Regions from separate parts of the Homo sapiens genome. Here all the other regions are linked to region 4. Evidence: promoter capture Hi-C in 16 types of primary human blood cells and fetal thymus (Javierre and others, 2016). All regions are on one chromosome and are shown on one strand. Each heading gives the region's core, a stretch centred on a gene start or on the middle of the fragment in contact. The rest is flanking DNA. Distances are from core to core; before and after follow the strand shown.

The links. The method cuts DNA at HindIII sites, captures the fragments that hold promoters and counts their contacts. A CHiCAGO score of 5 or more calls a contact.
Region 1: the fragment with the promoter of URM1 here is called in contact with the fragment with the promoter of SPOUT1 in region 4 in 1 of 17 cell types (fetal thymus); the score reaches 7.4 in fetal thymus.
Region 2: the fragment with the promoter of SLC27A4 here is called in contact with the fragment with the promoter of SPOUT1 in region 4 in 1 of 17 cell types (M0 macrophages); the score reaches 5.2 in M0 macrophages.
Region 3: a contact is called between the fragment with the promoter of GLE1 here and the fragment with the promoter of SPOUT1 in region 4, in 4 of 17 cell types (naive CD8 T cells, non-activated CD4 T cells, total B cells and 1 more). The highest score is 8.9, in naive CD8 T cells.

What each region holds. Positions count from the first base shown.
Region 1 is chr9:128,369,312-128,372,693 of GRCh38, reverse strand. It overlaps URM1 (ubiquitin related modifier 1), which reads right to left and starts at 1,320. Exons shown (of 5, transcript NM_030914.4): 1 at 1,279-1,320. The coding sequence starts at 1,313. RefSeq lists enhancers at 1,122-1,221, 1,285-2,148, 2,149-3,013. The HindIII fragment of the contact is 13,678 bases long and covers 1-3,382 here.
Region 2 is chr9:128,338,876-128,342,083 of GRCh38, reverse strand. SLC27A4 (solute carrier family 27 member 4) reads right to left here and starts at 1,557. Exons shown (of 13, transcript NM_005094.4): 1 at 1,246-1,557. TRR-TCT3-1 (tRNA-Arg (anticodon TCT) 3-1) reads left to right here and starts at 1,918; the gene lies at 1,918-2,008. RefSeq lists an enhancer at 215-394 and silencers at 1,031-1,430, 1,501-1,910, 1,539-2,180. The HindIII fragment of the contact is 5,439 bases long and covers 1-2,625 here.
Region 3 is chr9:128,503,376-128,506,371 of GRCh38, reverse strand. GLE1 (GLE1 RNA export mediator) reads right to left here and starts at 1,653. Exons shown (of 16, transcript NM_001003722.2): 1 at 1,468-1,653. The coding sequence starts at 1,566. RefSeq lists an enhancer at 1,253-1,412 and a silencer at 1,633-1,842. The HindIII fragment of the contact is 2,110 bases long and covers 336-2,445 here.
Region 4 is chr9:128,828,531-128,831,633 of GRCh38, reverse strand. SPOUT1 (SPOUT domain containing methyltransferase 1) reads left to right here and starts at 1,840. Exons shown (of 12, transcript NM_016390.4): 1 at 1,840-1,889; 2 at 2,479-2,524; 3 at 2,774-2,899. The coding sequence starts at 1,854. It overlaps KYAT1-SPOUT1 (KYAT1-SPOUT1 readthrough), which reads left to right. Exons shown (of 25, transcript NR_182311.1): 14 at 1,629-1,889; 15 at 2,479-2,524; 16 at 2,774-2,899. RefSeq lists silencers at 889-1,112, 1,929-2,108 and enhancers at 1,589-1,648, 2,446-3,103. The HindIII fragment of the contact is 15,703 bases long and covers 1-3,103 here.

The DNA.
Region 1 (3,382 bases), core at 71-2,570, 460 kb after region 4:
GGAGTGTAGCTGGGCCAAGGGTCAGTGAGGCAAAACAGTGAGGAGTCCAGACCAATACAGTTCTAATTGGATCCAAGCAGCCAGACAATATCAATTAAAATGCACTTAGTCATGAGACTTACCCCCCTTCTAAGGGGCAGAAATGCTGAACGCTGTAGGGCACGGACAGACTTCTATTTATCTTTGTATCCTCAGTGTCTGGCTTGCTGCCCGGCACATGGTAGGCACTCAATAAATGGCTGGTGAATGAACTACCCAATTAAGGGAAAACATGAAAGAAATGGGAGGCATCCAATGAGAAGAAAGGCACTGGGCAGAGGTTTTAGATTCCCATCCCAGACTTTTCCTGTCACATAGACCTTGGCTTATCTACACACACACAGGCACACACACACACCTACCTATTCCACACACACACACACACATCCCTACCTATTTCCTCTTTTCCACGTGATACTGTAAAGTACACCACCCATCTTTCAAGGCCTGTTTCTTTGCCTTCTCTCTAAGCTCTGCAGTTTCCCTCAGCTTTGAAACCATATGACAAACCTGTTTGTAGGAAGCACAAATAGTGCCTTGGGTAGACTTCCTCCCTGCTCTGTGTTTCTTCAGTAACTGGTGTGTGTCCCAATCTCTGCATTTTTCATCTTGTGTATACTATACTGTCCCTGTTAGTTCCCTTCAGTGTGATTTCTTATTTGTCCCCGTGTCTCCACCTGACTCCAGTTCTGCAGAAGGCAATCAGCAAGTTTACTGACTGTCCTGAAGGAGGCTCAGGTCTGTTTACCATCCCCAAGTCTTAGGAAAGAAAAAGAAAAAAGTCCCGCCCTGGCCACTACATCCCACGAGAAACAAGACCTTAATAACAGTGTAAAAAGAAACTGCTGCCCAAAGAATGAAATCAGCGGGTGGAGGGTGGTCCTTCTAGGTTCTAGGAGCTCAGATGCCAAACAGATGGGATTGGTCCGAGATAGGAATGGAAAAGAAGAGAGAGAGGCTGCCTGCTAACAGTCACGACCTCCGACTCCGGCGGAGCACAGGGCACCGAGTGGTACACAGAGAGCATTTCCCTCCCAATGTGCGCCTCTATTTCCGGACAGACGGCCTCACTGCCAAGAGAGACTGGCCTCTCAGACTCTCCTAGGCGGGTAGCGTAGCTCACAGCGGGCACTGGGACACCCAGTGATTCGGCCGTGTCAGGCCCCACGGCAGAAGGAAAGGAATTCTGGGCCCGACGACTTCAATCCATCCCCACGGCGCCCCAGCTCTGTGACTCACCCGAACTCCACCTCCACTGACAAGGGCGCAGCCATGTTGAGGAAGCCGAGCTCGCAGGAAACTCCCCTCAACTTCCGGCGCGCCCGCAAATTTCCGGGCGTCTCCGGGTGCCGCGGACGGAAGAGGCGGTGCCCAGGGATCCAGCTTCGTCAGCTGTTGGAGGAAGTCATCGAGGGGAGGGGAGGGGAGGGGAGGGCAGCGGAGGGAAAGGGGTGGCAGAGGGACTATCACCGGCGCTGTTGGGGCTGTGAATCGGTCTCCTTCCGTCTTTCACCGACTGGGCTCAGAGACCCAGGGTGGGAAGCGCCTTGTACGGGACCACAAGCAGGCGGAGGAGAGCCCCCAGGTTTTTTGCGACGTGACCGTGAGCCACGTAGCTGCTTATCTTGCATGAGTTAGAATCTCTTCAGTCTACACACCGCTTGGGCCAGCCCATCTACTCGTCTGGTTGGAATTATAAATGACTCCCAGATCTTTATTTCCGACCCAGAATCTCTCCTGAGCGGGCGACTCGCTATCCAGCCGCCCCCTTTGCTGTCGATTTGGAAGTCACTCGTTCAACAGCTGTTCATTGCGCCTCCCTGTGCCAGGCATTTTGATCGGTGCTAGTGGTAAAGGGGATGGGCAAGGTTCCTGCCTTTAGGGCACTCACAGTCTAGCGGGGAGACTAACTGTAATCAAATAAGCATACTAAGACATGTACAACCTCAAACTTAAATAAAGGAACTGAAGTTATAGGAACTTCAAAAAGAAAACTGAGTAGACTGGACTTGCTGGGCTCTAAAACCTGAGTAAACTAGGTGGCTGTGAGGGGAGAGAAACCTCTAGGAGCATTCCAGTGAGGAGGACAAAAGGCCCAGAGGCTCTGGGTGAGAACATGCTGGAACATGGAGAGGAAGGTGGAAGTTAGGGAGCCTGACTTTCATCCATCTAGAGAGGGAGCTGCAAAGGTGCTCAGGGGCCAACCCCTGCCTTGTAAGCAGGTAAACATTTCAGTCTCTAGGAGCAGTGGGAGACTACTGAAGGGTTTTGGGAGACAGTGACATTTTAGAATTGTGTTTTAAAATATAATTTCTGGCTGCAATATGGAGAATGATTTGAGGGGAATAAGGAAAGAGACACGGAGACCACTGGAGCCTGTTGCAAAAGCTCAGGGCAGGCCGGGCGCGGCGGCTCAGGGCAGGCCGGGCGCGGCGGCTCACGCCTGTCATCCCAGCAATTTGGGAGGCCGAGGCAGGCGGATCACGAGGTCAAGAGATCAAGACCATCCTGGCCAACATGGCAAAACCCTGTCTTTACTAAAAAAATACAAAAATTAGCTGGATGTGGTGGCGTGCGCCTGTAGTCCCAGCTACTCGGGAGGCTGAGGCAGAAGAATCGCTGGAACCCGGGAGGTGGAGGTTGCAGTGAGCTGACATCGAGCCACTGCACTCCAGCCTGGTGACAGAGCAAGACTCTGTCTCAAAAAAAAAAAAAAGCCCAGGGCAGAAATGGAATGAAGTTGGCCAGGCACAGTGGCTTATGCCTGTAATCCTAGCACTTCGAGAGGCCACGATGGGCGGATCACGAGGTCAGGAGTTCAAGACCAGTCTAGCCAACATGGTGAAACCCTGTCTCTACTAAAAATACAAAAATTAGCCAGGCATGGTGGCAGTCTCCTGTAATCCCAACTACTCTGGAGGCAGAGGCAGGAGAATCCCTTGAACCCAGGAAGCAGCAGAGGTTGCAGTGAGCCGAGATCGTGCCACTGGACTCCAGCCTGGGCGACAGAGTGAGACGCTAAAAAAAAGAAATGGAATGAAGTAGACGGCCTATGGGTATCTAAACACCAACACTTCCAAAACTGAACTCAGCATTGGTAGAGGATGATGGTGTAGCCTAGTGGTTAAGGGCAGAATGATGTAATAGTTAAGATCTAGGAGTTCAGGTGGAATGGGTGTGGCGACTCACACCTGTAATCCCAATGCTTTGGGAGGCCAAGGCAAGAGGACTGCTTCTGGCTGGGAGTTTGAGACCAGCCTGGGCAACACAGCAAGTCCCTATGTCTGTAAATGTTTCTTCAAAAATCAGCCAGGCATGGTGGAGTGTGCCTGTCCCAGCTACT
Region 2 (3,208 bases), core at 308-2,807, 490 kb after region 4:
AAAACCGGATGGCCTGGGGGTGGGTACTGACTTAAGAGCCTCTGGCTCGCTGGCAGTGGTGGCTCACACCTGTAATCCCAGCACTTTGGGAGGCCGAGGCAGGCGGATCATGACGTCAGGAGTTCGAGACCACCCTGACCAAGATGGTGAAACCCTGTCTCTACTAAAAATACAAAAATTAGCCAGGCATGGTGGCACACACCTGTAACCCCAGCTACTCAGGAGGCTGAGGCAGAAGAATTGCTTGAACCCGGGAGGCGGAGGTTCCATTGAGCCGAGATTGTGCCACTGCACTCCAGCCTGGGAGACAGAGCGAGACTCCGTCTCAAAAAAAGAAAAAAAAAGTCTCTGGCTCGACTCCCCACCCAGAACCCAGGGAGGTTCTGTGGATGACCAGGCCAAGTCAAAGGGGCAGCTCCCTGGAAAAGGAGCCCTGCTTGGTCCCTGCCCATAGACTCAGGTATCGCAGTGCGTCTGTTGGTCTATAGAGGGCGACCCAGAAAACGAGTTAGAGCCTGGAAGTGCTTGAAAGGTGACCGCCCAGGGGGCAAAGCTGATTGAGGGAGGCGAGGAGGACCTTGAAGACACCACCACCCATCACACAGACACACACAGCCACTCGGATGAATCTTTGGGGTCTAGGGCTTAGGGGAAGGCGAATGACTTGACTGTGCTTCAGGGGCTGGGTTGAGCTAGGACTCTTGGGTTCTATTCCTGGAGCTTTGAGGACTCGATCAAGGGGACATCTGATGGGACTGTTTTTCTCCGAGTTTTCCTGTTCTTGGGAGTAGATGAAGGTCACAAATGTGAAATGGCCTGAGAGCCTCCAAGCCAGGAAAAGGGAATGGTCTGGACCACAAGAAGCCCTGGGAGACCATCTCCCCCTCCCCCTCGCGAAAAGCAAAAGCCGGGGGCGGGGGAACTGAACCAGAGTCCTCAACCCCAACGCCAGGGTCCAGGGTCCTCAGATCTCTGGCCTCCCATAGCCCGCCATAGCAGAGGGGCAGGAACCTGTCCTGGAAGGCTGGGGCAAGAAGAGGCCAGAAGAGGGTGACTAGTTCCCTCGGGCCCCTGTCCCGGGTCACGCGTGCCGCCCTCGCCCCTAGACAGCAAGGTAACAGTGCGTCTGTCGGGGAAATAGCGCCGCAGGGCGCGCCCCCCACCTGGGGTCCGCACCGCCACCTCGCCCGACTCGGCCTGGCACATGTCCCCACCCGGGAACCCACCAGCCCGGTCTATGCTCACCCGGCGTCGGCTCCGCCGCGCGGCGCCCCGTCCAGATGCGGCCCGGTTGCAGCAGCGTAGACAGCGTGAGGGGCATTAGCCGCCCCTGGACGCACGGAGCCGGGTCTCAGCAGGGTTTAGCCGGCTCTGCGCCCTGCATGGCCCGGCCGCCCCGCCAGCCCCGCCCGCCGCCCGGCCCCGCCCGCCGCGCTCCTACCCCGCCCGCCTCCCGCACCCCAAACCTGCTGTGCCAGGCCGCAGCACCGCCTGCCGCACCTTCCCCGAAGCCGGCAAGCCACAGAGCCGGCGGCGCAGCGCAGCCCCAGCGCGCCTGACGCCGCTCGGCCCCAGCCCGCCCTGCTCGCGCAACGGCTTCGGGCGGCGCCGCCGCGCGGCACGCTGGGAGTTGTAGTCCACGCCGCGCGGCCCCACCCAGCCGAGGAGACCCCCGAGTCCGCGAGGAGACAGGCGGGCTTCACCCCGGCCCTTCCTCCCTGCCGACCCCGGCCCTTGCCCCCTGCTGTCCCCAGCGCCCGGATGTAGGAAGAGCACCCCAGTCCACACCACAGCCGAAAACCCGGAGCACGCTCTCGGGCCCCGGCCGAGTTCAGCAAACACCCAGCACCACACCTAGAAGCTCGCTAAGAGGGCGGTTTCAGGCAGAGGTGAGCGGGGCGGCCGGGTTCCGCAGCCGGCTCTGTGGCGCAATGGATAGCGCATTGGACTTCTAGCTGAGCCTAGTGTGGTCATTCAAAGGTTGTGGGTTCGAGTCCCACCAGAGTCGAATTTTGATGGCTCCTACTCCCTGACTTTCACCTGCGTGTTTTAAGGACTCCAGGACCTATCTAACAAATAAGGTTCAGAACGAAAATCATAAGTCACACCCAACTTTGCTGCGACACAGCCATAAACCTGGTGTCTAGGTGACTACGAGAAATCCTTTCTCGTACCATGGTGTCTTGTGAGCAGCCTGGCACACCTGTTGGCACAAAGGACACGGATTTGGAGGCCCTTAGTTAACTTCACCATCTATGATCTCTGGTCCCTGCAACAAATCAGTTAACCTATATTTGTCATGCCACCCTTATTTGTCATGCCACCTCCAGAGCCATAGGCGAGTGGCCAGATTCTCGGCCCTGTTGGGACTCTTGGCCTCTGAAAAATTGGTTTCTTGTTAAGTAACCATGTTGGGCATCCACAGTTGCCACTTGTCCTTAAACATTAATAGATCCCTGGGAGGCTGAGGCAGGAGAATTGCTTGAACCTGGGAGGCGGAAGTCGCAGTAAGCCGAGGTTGCGCCACTGCACTCCAGCCTGGGCGACAGAGCAAGTCTCCATCTCAAAAAAAAAAAAAAAAAAAAAAAAAAAAAAGATTCTGGGACTGGCGTGGTGGCTCAAGCTTGTAATCCCAGCACTTTTGGAGGCTGAGGCAGGAGGATCACTTCAGCCAGGAGTTCAAGACCAGCCTGGGCAACATAGTGAGACTCTGCCTCTACAGGAAAAAAAAAAAAATTAGCCAGGTAGCTCTTGCTTGTACTCCCAGCTACTCAGGAAGATGAGGTGGGAGGATTGCTTGAGCTCTGGAACTTGGGGCTGCAGTGAGCTGTGATTGCACCACTAAACTCCACCCTGGGCAACAAAGTAAGACCGTGTCTCAAAAAATAAAAATAAGCTGGGCACAGTGGCTCATGCCTGTAATCCCAGCACTTTGGGAGGTTGAGGTGGGCAGATCACATGACGTCAGGAGTTCGAGACCAGTCTGGCCAACAGGGCGAAACCCTGTCTCTATTAAAAATACAAAACTTAGCCGAGCGTGGTGGTGCACGTCTGTAATCCTAGCTACTCAGGAGCTGAGGCAAGAGAATCACTGAACCCGGGAGGCAAAGGTTGCAGTGAGCCGAGATTGGGCCACTGCACTCCAGCCTGAGCAACAGAGCAGTGAGAGCCTGTCTCAGAAAACTAATAATAATAAAAATAAAGATGA
Region 3 (2,996 bases), core at 404-2,903, 330 kb after region 4:
TATTTACAAGGCTACATTTTTTTTTTTGAGACACAGTCTCACTCTGTCACCCAGGCTTGAGTGCAGCAGCACAATCTCGGCTCACTGCAACCTCTGCTTCCAGGGTTCAAGCAATTCTCATGCCTCAGTCTCCCGAGTAGCTGGGATTACAGGCATGCACCACCATGCTCGGCTAATTTTGTATTTTTAGTAGAGATGCGGTTTCACCATGTTGGCCAGGCTGGTCGCGAACTCTTGACCTCAAGTGATCCGTCCCCCTCGGCCTCCCAACGTGCTGGGATTACGGGCCTGAGCCACCACGCCTAGCCTTGCATGTGATTATTTTGATACAAGCTTACAAAATCTGGGACATTTAAAATAAAATAAATAAATAATAAAAGTAATGGATTACAACTCACTGAATAAAATAGAAAGCACCTCCTTACAGTAGAATGCCAACTAACAAATGCAGAAGGAATAGCGGATATAAAGAAACAGGATCTGGCAACGTCATAGAGGTATCGATTCATGTGGAAAACATCAATGAATGCTAAAGCCATGGAGGATTAAGGTTTGCCCAGAAAAAAGGATACTGGTATTATTACTTCCCAACAATTACTAAGGGAAAAATGACGAATTTTAAACGGAGAGACCAGGCAGATAATAACGTAACCAGGTGATCAAGATTAGCATCACCAGTGTTGGGATGGGTTGACATCTGTGTGCCTCCTCATGTGACTTACTGAGAAAGCCATGGCATCATTTCTGTGGTATTCCTGCCAAGAATGCTTAACCTTGGTCTGGTGGTTTGAAAGCACATATGCTGGCAGTCAACCTACAGAATGTAAGGTCTGTATTTTTCAAAACTGTCAACAACATAAAAGACAGGGAAATACTTTAGGATTGTTTCCCAAGAAGTCTGAGGATGCAGGACAACGCCTTATCTGTAGCTAACTAGCAGCGACTCGGGAATGGGAGCTCGGCCTTAACTCTCCACATCCCTCCACTTCTCGCGCAGAGCTTTGCAAATGCTAGGTACGGTGACCACGCCCCCATTCACTTTCCAGGTCTGCCAAATCAATCTAAAAATTTGGTCATTTCACTAGTAGCAATGGATTAGGTCGTGTCAATCGTTCGTCGCAAACTCTAGAGCTCCCAGCACATGAGACATACAGTAAGTTAACTGAACCTGGGGCCGAGATTGCTTTGACAACAGCAGAACGGAGAAGGCGCCCAACTGGCGGAGGGTAGCAATGAAGCCTTCAGAGCGCGGGGCACCTGTGAAGTCAGGGGAGCTCCCCGAAACGCTAAAATAGGCTGAAGAGGACAGAAACCCCAGGACAGAGGGATGTACACACAGAAGTCAAGAAATAAATGCAGGTTGTTAGACTGCACGGGTTCCCGGGAGCAGAACGTGCCAACGGCTAGGGAGAAGGTTTCGGTCGCGAGGGGCCGGAAAGGCCTACGTCCTCCGGGGCCACCGCTCACCTCGCGCCGCAGCAGCCAGTCGCGGTAGTAGCAAAGGCGACCTTTGTCGGAACTGCGTAGGGCCTTCAAGGTCTCCCAGCAGCGACCCTCAGACGGCATGGTTGGCTAAGGGGCAGCTTCTCTGACGCCCCCCTTCTGACCAAACAAGCCCTCGAATCAGCCGCCGGGAAGGCCACACAGGCTTCTGCTTCCGGGACGCGCGCGCAGCACAGCCCCGCCCCTAACGCCTGCACGCCCCACCTCCGGCGACGCTCCCGCGTTCCCGCCCTCCCACCAGTGCGCCTGCGCGCAGGGCTTGGCTGTCGGGGCACGTTCCGCAGAGGTAACCACCGCTCCCAATCCCCGGGGCTGCTGAAAATTTGTCTGTGCCTTGAGACTGTGCAGAAACTGGAACCCTCATACACTGCTCATGGGACTGTAAAATGAAGCACCTGCTGTGGAAGACAGTCTGGCAGTTCCTCAAAAGGTTAAACAATTACCATTTGACCCAGCAATTCTCCTAGGTAAATATATATATATATATAAAATACGCCAAAGAAATGAAACCTATGTATATATAAAAACTTGTCCATGAATGTTCACAGCAGTGTTATTCATAATAGCCAAAAAGTGAAAGCAACCCAAACGTCCATCCATTGGTGAATGGATAAATAAAATATAGTACTATGTGCGCGGTTCCCGAGTTCCCCCGCTTTCTGTGCACTGACCAAGTATCAGAGTGCCTTGACCGCCCTGTGACCCAGCCAGCTGCAAGTTTTTTCCTGCAGACTTGCAACCAAACACGGGCCTTGCATATCCCTAGGCACTAAGGATATCTAGGTTATTGCCCAAAACGCTGAAACTGACCCCTGCTTTTAGCCAAATTCCATAAACCCTCATATAAACTTCATACCCTGACCCCTCGCTGGGGATGTACCTAGGTGAAACACCGCTTCTCTCTGTCTGTCGCGAGAATTGCTGCAGCCCACTCTGTAAGCTTCCCTAATAAATGTTTTGGGTTTAATGCTGCTTTTTTGAGACAGAGTCTTGCTCTGTCCCCCAGGCTGGAGTACAGTGGCTCGATCTCGGCTCACTGCAACCTCCGCCTCCCGGGTTCAAGCGATTCTCCTGCCTCAGCTCCCCGTGTAGCTGGGACTACACGCGCCAGCCACCACGCCCAGCTATTTTGTATTTTTAGCAGAGGCGGGGTTTCACCATGTTGGTCAGGCTGGTCTCGAACTCCTGACCTCAGTTGATCCACCCACCTCGACCTCCCAAAGCGTTGGGATTACAGGCATGAGCCACTGCGCCCGGCCATAGTGCTTCTTTGGAATCCCAACCAGCCCTGTTTGGCAGGAGGAAACACCACATCTATATAATGGAATGTTATGGGGCCATAAAAATAAAGTGCTGATGATACGCTGCAACATCAATCTTGAAAGCATTATGCTGAGAGAAGCCAGTCATGAATGGCCACATGTTGGACAATTCCACTTATGTGAAATATCCAGAAGAGACAAATCTATAGAGCCAGAGAAACTTTATGACTA
Region 4 (3,103 bases), core at 591-3,090:
TAAAAATATAAAAAATTAGCCGGGTGCAGTGGCGGGCACCTGTAGTCCCAGCTACTCGGGAAGCTGAGGCAGGAGAATGGCATGAACCCAGGAGGCGGAGCTTGCAGTGAGCGGAGATCACGCCACTGCACTCTAGCCTGGGCGACAGAGCAGAGCGAGACTGTCTCAAAAAAAAAAAAATCTAAGTTCGAGACCGGGCACGGTGGCTGACACCTGTAATTCCAGCACTTTGGGAGGCCGAGGCGGGTGGATCACCTGAGGTCGGGAGTTCAAGACCAACCTGACCAACATGGAGAATCCCGTCTCTACTAAAAATACAAAAATTAGCCGGGCTTGGTGGCAGGCGCCTGTAATCCCAGCTACTTGGGAGCTTGAGGCAGGAGAATTGCTTGAACCTGGGAGGCAGAGGTTGCAGTGAGCCGAGATCATGCCACTGCACTTCAGCCTGAGCAACAGAGTGAGACTAGATCTCAAAAAATAAAAGGCATTAATGGCTCAAGTCTATAATCTCAGCCCTTTGGGAAGCCAAGTTGGGAGGATTGCTTGAACCCTGGAGTCTGAGACCAGCCCTGGCAACATAGTGAGACACTATCTGTACAAAAAGAAAAAAAAAAATTAGTCGGGCATGGTGGCTCACACTTGTAGTCCCAACTAATATAGTCTGTTAATTAAAAGAGAACGAGGCCGGGCGTGGTGGCTCATGCCTGTAATCCCAGCATTTTGGGAAGCCGAGGTGGGCGGATCACCTGAGGTCAAGAGTTCGAGACCAGCCTGACCAACATAGAGAAACTCCATCTCTACTAAAAATACAAAATCAGCCAGGCGTGGTGGTGCATGCCTGTAATCCCAGCTACTCGGGAGGCTAAGGCAGGAGAATCGCTTGAACCCAGGAGTTGGAGGTTCCTGTGAGCTGAGATCGAGCCATTGCACTCCAGCCTGGGCAAGAAAAGCGAAACTCTGTCTCAAAAAAAAAAAAAAAAAAAAAAAAAAAAAAAAAAAAAGGCCGGGTGCAGTGGGTCACGCCTGTAATCCCAGCCCTTTGGGAGGCCGAGGCTGGAGGATCACTTATGGTCAGGAGTTCAACCAGGCTGGCCAACACGGGGCCAACATCAACACCATCTCTACTAAAAACACACACAAAAAAATTTGCTGGGCATGGTGGCACGCTCCTGTAATCCCAGCTTCTTGAAAGGCTGAGGCAGGAGAATTGCTTGAACCCAGGAGGTGGAGGTTGCAGTGAGCCGAGATCGCGCCATTGCACTCCAGCCTGGGCAATGAATCGAGACTCTGTCTCAAAAAAAAGAAAGAGTACGTGAACGAATCTATAAGAAACCTGGAGTAAATTATCTCATTTTCAGCTCTGAATCACACTACAGCTCAAGGCCCCAGGGTCCCCATGTATAAAGCCTTCCAGGAGCTAGGCGTGGTGCTGCGCACCTGTGGTTCCAGCTACTCGGGAGGCTAAGGTGGGAGGATCCCTTGAGCCCAGGAGCTCAAGCCTGCAGTGAGCTAGAATTGCTCCACTGCACTCCAGCCTCGGCAACATAGCGAGACCCTGTCTCAAAAAAAATTATTTTTAAACAAGTGAACTACTCAGAGGTCTGAGTGTTGTATTTGTCCCAACTCAGAGGGGGGCTCCGAGCCATCCAAAATTCAGCACAGTACCCGCGATGCCGCCTATTTGGACACCTACTCTGCCCAACCTACTCCAGCCCGCGTACCCCTGCAGCCCGTCGGGCGCCCAGGCCACGCCCCTGGGCGATATTGGCTCTCCGATTGGACAGCTTAATGGAGGTGTGGCCGGAAGAGGCGAGTCTCATTGGCAGAGGCGGGACCGACGGTGTGTGCGGAACATGGCGGAGCGCGGCAGGAAGCGGCCGTGCGGCCCGGTAAGTGCGGGCGGCGGGACCCCGTGCAGGGCAGCATGGTGGAGGCGTGAGAACCAGTGGCGTGGGGGCCTTCGCCGGGGCCGGGCCGCGCCTCCTGCTGCCTGCTTCCCGCTGATCCCAGGCCGGAAGCCCCCGAAGGTGCCGCGTGAGCCTCAGCAGGATGGGAACAGCGCCCGTGTCCTCTCCGGAACCCCCTGCGGCTCCCTGGCCCCCGCTGGATTACGGAGGCGGGACCCTGCTCGCCTCCGGATGCTGAATCCGGAGCCCTTTCGTGGCTTCTGGAGCCCTTTTCTGACTTCCAGGGCGACTGTGGGCAGTGCTGTACCCTGAGCCTCAGTTTTCTCTTCTGTTTTGTGGGAACTCATTCGACAGTTTCTTGAGTGCTTTCTGTGTGCCAGGCTGGGTCCCAGGCGCTGGGGATACAGCGGGTCCCTGCCCTCCTGCCGCTTTCTGGGGCAGCAGTTCGCAGAGGTTCCTTGGCTTCCTTGCCGCCCCGTGTGGAGGGGCTGGCTATGGTGCAGCAAACGGACCCCCTCCAGGTGTGACCATCAGCCTCACACTCATAATCCTCCTACCACTCCTTCTCCAGGGTGAACACGGCCAAAGGATTGAGTGGCGAAAATGGAAGCAACAGAGTAAGTAAGGGTGGGTAAGAGTATCTTCCCATAGGCCACTCCACCAGTGCTCAGTCAAACCCTGGAGAAAGACACCAACTTTGTTCCCTCTGGGTCCTGCAGCACACAAAGTGGGGAGGCAGGGGCCGGGAGCCCTGGGGAGGCTCCCTTGCTGCCCTCTGGCTGCTCACCCAGCAGCTCTCCAGAGTCCAGGCTGACCCAATGAGTGGGAACTGTCTCCTTGGCCAATTAGGATGTTCTTTTATCCAGAGAAAGAGGAGAAAAAAAAATGGAAGGATCTCAAGCTGATGAAAAAACTGGAGCGGCAGCGGGCACAGGAGGAACAGGCAAAGCGCCTGGAAGAGGAGGAGGCAGCGGCAGAGAAGGAGGACCGCGGTGAGCTGGGGTCTTGGGGAGGGCCACAGGTTGTGGCCCACGGTAGTTGTCCTGCAGGCAGAGCAGAGATGTCTTATCTGAAAGGGCCTTTACAGACCAGTAGGTCCAAACATCTTGTCCTGATGGAGAAACTGAGGCCCAGAGAAGGGAGGGAGCCAGCAAACTGAGTTCTGACCTCCTGCTTAGGTAAATTTCAAGCCTATG